Regions from separate parts of the Homo sapiens genome. Here all the other regions are linked to region 1. Evidence: promoter capture Hi-C in human tissues and cell types (Jung and others, 2019). All regions are on one chromosome and are shown on one strand. The core of a region is centred on a gene start or on the middle of the fragment in contact, and the rest is flanking DNA. Distances in the headings are between cores, read along the strand shown.

Region 1 (2,810 bases), core at 240-2,739:
AGAGGATGCAGCAAAACCACTAATGAGGTTATATCAAAAAAAAATGACAGAGCCAGAAATGAGCCAATGAAAACAGGTTCATATGCCACTCTTTTGACTTCTATGCCAAAGCAACGTACTTCTACTATACAGCCTGATAAAAAGTGAAGCTCTGATAGTCAAGGACAACTACAGTCAAATACCAATCTATCTCCCCAATCACTCAAACACAATGAGATGTAATTGCTTTCATATTCCACTCTGAAAAGGGGAAAAAAACTAACACTATAAAGAGTTGGAAATCCCACAAGCAAAGTGACAAGCAAACACTGAATTTACACAAATGTGTACAATCTAAAGTACAAAATATGCGTCAGCAGTGGATCAAAATAAAGCACAAAAAACTCGCGAAACAACGAAAGAACCAGACTGTAAGACAAAAATGGCATACAATGAAAAGAGAAAAAAATGAAAAGAAACAAAGAGGCCACATTGTGGACACAATATCGTAACTTCTGACCAGATTATAAACTTTTAAAATTTTGCTTTTATTAAAAATTAATTGAAAAAAATTTATAAAGCATGTTTCTATGCAAGAATTACTCTCAAGAACACAACGATTACGTAAAAAATAGGCAAGAAACAACATACTGTTTCAAAATACAAATATATGTAGTAACTATAAAGAAAAGTAGTGAAATTATAAATACAAAACTTAGATAATGTTTGCTTCTTAAGGTTTCCTGAAAGTTCAAAGAAGGTAACACAGGGCTTTCAAAGGCTATGTTTTATTTCTTAAAACTACAAAATGGGTAAACGAGAATTCCTGAAACTGTTCATCTTTACACTTGAAATGTGCTTTAGTAACACTCTTTTGTATCTACTCAGTTTTTAATAAAAACAACAAAACTGCTTCAGTGCCCTGGAGCGAATGGGGGCGTAACGGCAGGATTCAGGGCACTAACGAGAGGTGAACGGACGCCGAGGAAGAGGCGACTAAGCCCACATACTGAGTCTACCCAGGCCAGAGAGGCAGAGGTGTGTAGGGCCAGCGATCTCAGAAGTTTTGCCAAACTCCTCGATGCGTTACAATGGAAAGGTGCCGGGTTTCCCCCAGGAAGTAGTGACTAGCGAGAAGTTAGGCACAAGGCAAAGAGGAGCAAGGCGACGTGTGAGCACTTCAGCACTCGGACGCGGAACTCTAAGGTCCAGGCGTTGGGCCTGGGACTCGCCTCCCAGAGGCTTCGCCCCGCACCCCGCACACTCCCTGAAAATAAACACTTTGCATCCTCCCCTCTCCTAGGTTCCCGAAACCGCACCCTCCCTCTCTGCCTGCTCAACAAGAGCCTTCCGGGGAACCAACCGAGCGGTTCGGGGGAGCAGGAGGGGGCCCACCATGGTGACGTCCTCGTGGCCACGGAGCAGCTCCGCACTCTAGACCCAGGTAATCTCACCAACCGCAGGAGCAGCAGCTCACAAGAGCACCCGGGCCGAATCCCACGTGGCGCCTGAGAAGCCCGCGCCGACCCAACCGGAACAGGAGAGGCGAGTGCGTTTCTCTAAAGCGTCCCCGTTAACTGAGACCGCGTCTTTTTCGCCCGTGTTGGGCTTTTAAGCTCTAGCCCAACGGACAGCCAGACCTGCGTGCTCGCCGGGAGCGGCGGAAGGGAGCTTGCGGCGGGAGGCTGAACTCTGCCTGGTGCTGAGTGCGAGGCTGGGGATTGGAGCCCGGGTGGAGACGCTACACGCTTCCGGCCCCAAGAGCGGAGCTTGCCCATCTGTCCCAGAGCACGACTCCAGAGCGCAGCAACCTCTTCAGACAAGAGGTTCCCTCTTGCGGGCTCCCGCATCTCAGGGGCTGGGACCCTCTCAAAAGGGCCGCTCGGTGTTGGCTCCCCGGAGCTCTTGCACGGCACAGGCTCCTGCCCTCCGCTTTTCCACGTACTAGATTACCTTGGGCAAGTCCTTTCCTGCACTGAGTCTTTTTTTGCCCTGCCCTGCCCTGCCCTGCCCTGCCCCGCCCCGCCCCTCTTCTCTTTCCTTTCTTTTCTTTTCTTCTTTCCCTCTTTCCCGCCTTCCCTCATTCCCTCTTTCTTTCTTCCTCCCGGGTTCAAGCGATTCTCCTGCCTCAGCCTCCCGAACAGCTGGAATTACAGGCCTCCGCCACCACGCCCGGCTAATTTTTTTTTTTTTTTTTTTTTTTTGTATTTTTAGTAGAGACGGGGTTTCGCCGTGTTGGCCAGGCTGGTCTCGAACTCCTGATCTCAGGTGATCCGTCCGCCTCGGCCTCCCAAAGTGCTGAGATTACAGGCCTGAGCCACCACGCCCGGCCGAGTCTTAGTTTCTTTATCCGGAAAGGCCACTTCCTCATATTCAAGGCCTCTGCCAACCCAGTTTTTGTTTTCTTCTCACAGCATGTGAGAGTCTTTGTTTCACCCATACATGTTAGAATTCCGTAGACAATGTAATCATTCAAAAACTATTTATTGAATGCCTACTGTGTGCCTGGTACTGGGGATACTCCAACAATATCCCTCACTCAGCTCATTTTCCAGGGGATGGAGGCATGTAAAAATATTATTTCAAATAATATAAGTACTCTAATAAAAATTAGCTGGCGGGGGCATGTAGAAAAGCTGTTTTACACATGGTGGTCTCTATAAAGTCCTCTTTTAGAAGTGATAATTGAGCAGAGACCGGAATTGTAAGAGAAAACTAGGCATGGGAAGAAGCTCCAGGCAGGGTGAAGCTGGTGTGCCTTGATATGTGTGTGCAGCTGTTAACAGTTGAGGGTAGTTGGCTAGGTCCTTGGCGTTTTGAACAAATAATTG
Region 2 (2,756 bases), core at 30-2,529, 640 kb after region 1:
CCTGTCCTTAGTCCTTATGGCATTTCCATCTTAGTTTAAAACTGTTTAAATTTAAAGAGTCATCTCTAAGCCAGGTGTGCTAGTACAGACCTGTAATCCCAGCTACTCTGAAGGCTGAGGTAGGGTGGATTCCTTAAGCCCCCATGGAGACTGCAATGAGCTATAGACACGTCATTACACTTCAGCTTGGGTTACAGAGCAAGACCCCATCTCTATTTTTGGAAAAAGAGTAATTTCTTTATCTTCTTTGCTCTTAAGCTCATTATAAAGCTAAGTTTTAAAAAAAGCACTTGACTAGTAGCATACACTCAAATTTCCACGTGTATTTTGTTTCGTGGAAAATAACCAAAAGGTGAAGCAGGGATTCCCCTCTGAACACAAATGCATTTCTAATCATAGAAAAAAAGCAGAAAGAAATTTGGCCCTTGGATGAAAAATCAACATCCAGAAGACTGTCATTTCTAAGCTTTTCTGTTTTTGGATGTGCCAAAGGAGATTAGGCAATGGGTTTTAAAGTATAGACTACAGAGAACTGACTTACCATAAGAAAACAGGATCAATTCGAGGGTTTCTATTCCTTAAAGAGAAAGACCAAAAGTAGAAGAAAAGAAAAGAGAATAAGTAAATGAACAACATGACTGAGCAGCTGAAAGACCTTAAAGACATTAGATGTTAAATATTGAATTGTTGACATTTTTGTGATACAAATCAAGTATGAGCACTAAAATTTAGTAATGGTCTCTATACGTATAGTTCCTTTGAGTGAAAAAAAGTATTTGTGGGTATATGTGTATATATGTATGTATATCTATACACATATACATACTATATATGTATATCTATACACATATACATACTATATATGTATTTTTTCTCCCCAGAATAGAGTTGATATACATTTGATGTTAGAAGCATGATATATAGAGGAAAAAAGTAATTCAGCAAAGGCAATAAGCTTGAACAAAAGATGACCATGGGAATATCAGAACTCTCAGAAATCATAAGAATATAGACTATGAAAATAAACTTTATGTAGAGTATGGAATATGGGTTCTAATCAAATTTGCCTAGTTTTTTTTTAGGCAGTGTGAGCCCAGCTGATGCCTGACTTATACAGAGAACAATTACTGTAGTCTCGTCACTCTCTGCCACTTTTTAAAAGTTCAGTAATTATTAGTAGCAAGGAATTTTTTAAGAGACAGAGAGGAGAGAAACAGAGAGAGAGAGACTAATCTGTTAGAAAAATGATCTGACTACTACATCTGATACCTCAAAATTATTAGCCAACCTTCTATTCAATCAAATTATAAACTCGAGACACATTGTAAACTTACACTAATTCAAAATTATTTATAACTTTGGTCACTTTTATTTTCTACATATCTACTGAATTTTTAATGAAATCTTCATATCATGGTCCTAGATTTAGTCTTTACCACTTTCAATGCACTTGAATAACTGGTATTCTTGTTTTGCCTATGACACTTCTGAAATCACATGATTACTGCCAAAACATTGAAATTTAAAAAGAACAAAACTAGTTAGTTTATCTCTGATGATCATGTTACTTCTCTTTCCAACAGTTTTCAATATTTCCCATTGTTTTCAGGATAATGTTCAAAGTGCTAAGCAGGACAATTCTAGACTTTCGAGATTTGTCCTTTGTTTGCCTTTCTAATGTGATCTGCCACGTTCTAGCAGGTAGCATATAGTCACGCATAATGAGCTTCCAAGAGTCCAAGCACACCACAGTCTATAGCATCGCCATAGATTTATATATAATTTTCCCATTTTTTCTGTCTGGCTGATGCTAAACCATTTTTAAGAGTAACTCTCATGTTACATTTGAGGCTTAGCTAAATTTCACAGTACTACGTGTCAAAATAACAGATCTTAAATCTATGAAGACCAATAGTCTATGATATTTAATTTTAGGAGCTTCATAAAACAATTTGTTAAAGATAAAACTCATAAGAATAATATGATAAATAAGTGAAGATTTTGGTATTACTAAGGGAATTCTGAAAATAAACCTAAATAGGATAAACAGGAGCAGAATTTAGTTACGTGCACATTAAGTTACACTGGCACAAGAGTTTGGTAAAATATTTGTCAAAACTTATGTAAAATACTTCAATAACTTTGTGAAGTTGTGCCAAATTCTAGACAAATAGATTTTGAGTTGAGAACAACCAACAACTATATTTAATCAATGTGATACGGAGGATTCTTTTTTTCCCCACCTGAGCATTCAGGAACAATCTTATTTGAAAAAACACTTTCAACTCTATTACAAGACTGGGCACGGTAGCTCATGCCTGTAATCCCAGCATTTTGGGAGGCCGAGGTAGGTGGATCACTTGAGGTCAGGAGTTCAACACCAACCTGGCCAACCTGGTGAAACCCCATCTCTACTAAAAATACAAAAAATCAGCTGGGCATGGTGGTGGGCACCTGTAATCCCAGCTACTTGGCAGGCTGAGGCAGGAGAATTGCTTGAACCCAAGAGGCAGAGGTTGCAATGAGCTGAGGTTGCGCCATTGCACTCCAGCCTAGGCGACAAGAGCAAAACTCTGTCTCAAAAAATAAATAAATAAATAAATAATCTATTGGAAGTGTTTTGCTATGTTTCTTTAAAGCTGGTTAAAGAGTACAAACTTTTTGTTATAAGATGAATAAGTTCTGGGGATCTAATGTACAGCATGGTGATGATAGTTAATAATACTGTATTGCGAACTAAAAATTTGATGAGTAGG
Region 3 (2,700 bases), core at 38-2,537, 790 kb after region 1:
CTAAGTCAACATGTAAAACCATACCTGTAAGTTTATCTGGAAAAGGAAGTATCTGTCCTCCAGACTTTAGCGTGTATTAAAGATTGCTGTACAGGGTTGAAATAGCATTCTGTGACTCTATTTTTAACATCTGCACCAAATCCCAAGGCAGTCAAGTCATGGTACAATAAAGGACACTGCATCCACTGACAGCTACAGCTATAGTGCAAGCAGTGGAGGCAGGGGATGCCAGGGGAGGTCAAATGACCAGAAGAATATTGTGTTTTGGGGAAAGAGAAATGGAAAAGTGAGAGAATAAAGAATTAGTAAAATATATTTAATGAGTCCAAATTATCCATTGCAAAAAAGAGAAAGTCTTATATTTTTCTTTCAGCCTTTCTTCCTTCTTAACCCTCTTTCTTTTATCCTATTTTTATTCTTTTTCTTTTATTCTTATCTTTTTTTCTTAAATAATAATACATTCACTAGTCCCTCTATGTGAACTTACACATTTTAAAAGCTCTACTATAATGTTTCAAATGATTCATTGAACAAGCCACATGCAAAGAAGGATAAATTTCTAATTAGTTACTGAGTAATGCTAAACCAGTAGTAAACTTTAGTCTTAATCATTCTGTTTATTTGCTTGTTTGTTTGTTTTACTTTTTAGTGTTTTACATCACATTAAACTCTTTGTGGCTTCCTTGGATAATGGTTACCCATTGGGACTTCATGAAATACTGGCTTACTGACTGTTTCTTTTCCCAGTTTTATTGAAGTATAATTGACAAACAAAACTTATATACATTTAATGCACATGATGTGATATTTTGATATACATGTACATTGTGAAATAATCACCACAATCAAGCTAATTAATATATCCATGACCTCACAGTTATGTGTGTGTGGTGAGAACACATAAGATTTACTGCCTTGGCAAATTTCAAGTCTACACTACAGTAATGTTAACTATAATCACTATGCTATACATTAGATCTCCAGAACTCATTCATCCTATATAATTGAAATTTTGTACCCTTTGACAAAAATTTTCACACTTTCCTAACCCTCCAACCCTTGGAAACCACAATTCTACTCTGCTTCTATGAACTCATCCCTTTTAGATTTCACATATAAATAAGATAATGCAATATTTGTCTTTCTGTACCTGGCTTATTTCACTTAATATAATGTCCTCCAAGTTCATTCATGTTGTCTCAAATAACAGTATTTTCATCTTTCTTAAGATGGAATAATATTCCGTTGTGTCTGTGTGTGTGTGTACACACACACCAAAATTCCCTTTCTTTCATCTGTTGGTGAGCACTTAGGTTGGTTTCATAACTTATCTGTTTTGATTAATGCTGCAATGAACATGGGAGTGCAGATATCTCTTCAAGACACTGATTTTAATTCCTTTGAATATATACAAAAATGGGATTGCTGGATTATAAGATAGCTCTACTTTTCTATTTTTAATTTTTCAGAAAACCCTCATACTATTTTCCATCATGGCTGTACCAACTGACATTTTCAGTAACAGTAGACAGGAATTCCCTTTTCTCCGCATTCTTGCCAACACTTATCTTTCATCTTTTTGATAAAAGCCACTCTAACAGGTGTGAGGTAATATTGTGGTATTGATTTGCATTTTCCTAATGATTAATGAGGTTGAAATTCTTAAAAAATATACCTATTGGCCATTTGTATGTCTTTCTGAAAAATGTCTACTCATATCCTTTGCCCACTTTGGAATCAAGTTATTTATTTTGTTGCAATTGAGTTGTTTGAGTTCCTTATTTGTTGTGAATTCCAATCCCTTATTAGATATATGGTTTACAAATATTTTTTCCCATCACTTAAGTTGTCTCTTCATTCTGCTCATTTTTTCCTTTGCAATTCAGATGTAGCCTATTTGTCTATTTTTGCTTCTGTTTTCTATGTTTTGAGTGTCTTATTCAAAAAAATCATTGCCCAGAACAATGTCACAGAGCTTTTCTCCCACGTTTTCTTCTAGTAGTTTTATAAATTCAGTTCTTACATGTAAGTCTTTAATCTATCTTGAGTTGATTTTTGTTGTGTGAGATAAGGGTTCAGTCTCTTTCTTTTGTGTGTGGATATCCAGTTTTACCATCAACATTTGTGGAAGAGACTGTCCTTTCCCCACTATATGTTCTTGGAATCTTTGCCTGAGACCAACTGAACATAAATATGTGGATTTGCTTCTCAGCTTAATATTTTGTTTCATTGGTCTACATGTATGTTTTTATGCCTGTAATATATTGTTTTGACTACTATAGCTTTGGAGTTTATCTTGAAATCAGGTAGTGCAGTGCCTGCAGCTTTGGTCTTGTTCAAGATTTCTTTGGTTATTCAAGGTCTTTTGTGGTTTCATATTGGCTTTTATCTTGAAAGTTTCTAATATCTACTCTTTCTTTTCTTTCTTTCTTATGTTTTGTCTTTTCTTTTCCTTTATTCATTTTAGAGAAATTCTGAAAATTAGAAAAGGGAAAGCTCTTCTTTAGTATACCAAGAGATACCTGAAAAAGTCATTCAACTGCTGAGGATCTTCAATTAAGAAAAGCATCATAGTCTTTAGTAAAGGCTCTCTAATGCAAATGATTGTGGTCTTATTCTGAATAATCAAATGTATGTCAAGCATTTCTTAGTTCCTAGAACATTTTCAAAAATTAAACTTTTTGAAATAAAGACTAATTA

What was found. The method cuts DNA at HindIII sites, captures the fragments that hold promoters and counts their contacts. A contact is called where the count stands out against the background at its distance.
Region 2: a fragment that was not itself captured here is called in contact with the fragment with the promoter of TMA16 in region 1 in 1 of the 25 tissues and cell types used here (dorsolateral prefrontal cortex).
Region 3: a contact is called between a fragment that was not itself captured here and the fragment with the promoter of TMA16 in region 1, in 1 of the 25 tissues and cell types used here (lymphoblastoid cells).

Annotation. Positions count from the first base shown.
Region 1 is chr4:163,493,369-163,496,178 of GRCh38, reverse strand. TMA16 (translation machinery associated 16 homolog) reads right to left here and starts at 1,489. Exons shown (of 7, transcript NM_018352.3): 1 at 1,375-1,489. The coding sequence starts at 1,377. It overlaps LOC124900805 (a long non-coding RNA gene), which reads left to right and starts at 955. Exons shown (of 2, transcript XR_007058354.1): 1 at 955-1,017; 2 at 1,283-2,810. RefSeq lists enhancers at 913-1,062, 1,093-1,232, 696-1,598. The HindIII fragment of the contact is 18,907 bases long and covers 1-2,810 here.
Region 2 is chr4:162,854,830-162,857,585 of GRCh38, reverse strand. No RefSeq gene overlaps it. Among named protein-coding and RNA genes, the nearest start is that of MIR4454, 240 kb to the left of the region's middle. The HindIII fragment of the contact is 4,061 bases long and covers 1-2,756 here.
Region 3 is chr4:162,702,778-162,705,477 of GRCh38, reverse strand. No RefSeq gene overlaps it. Among named protein-coding and RNA genes, the nearest start is that of MIR4454, 390 kb to the left of the region's middle. The HindIII fragment of the contact is 6,712 bases long and covers 1-2,700 here.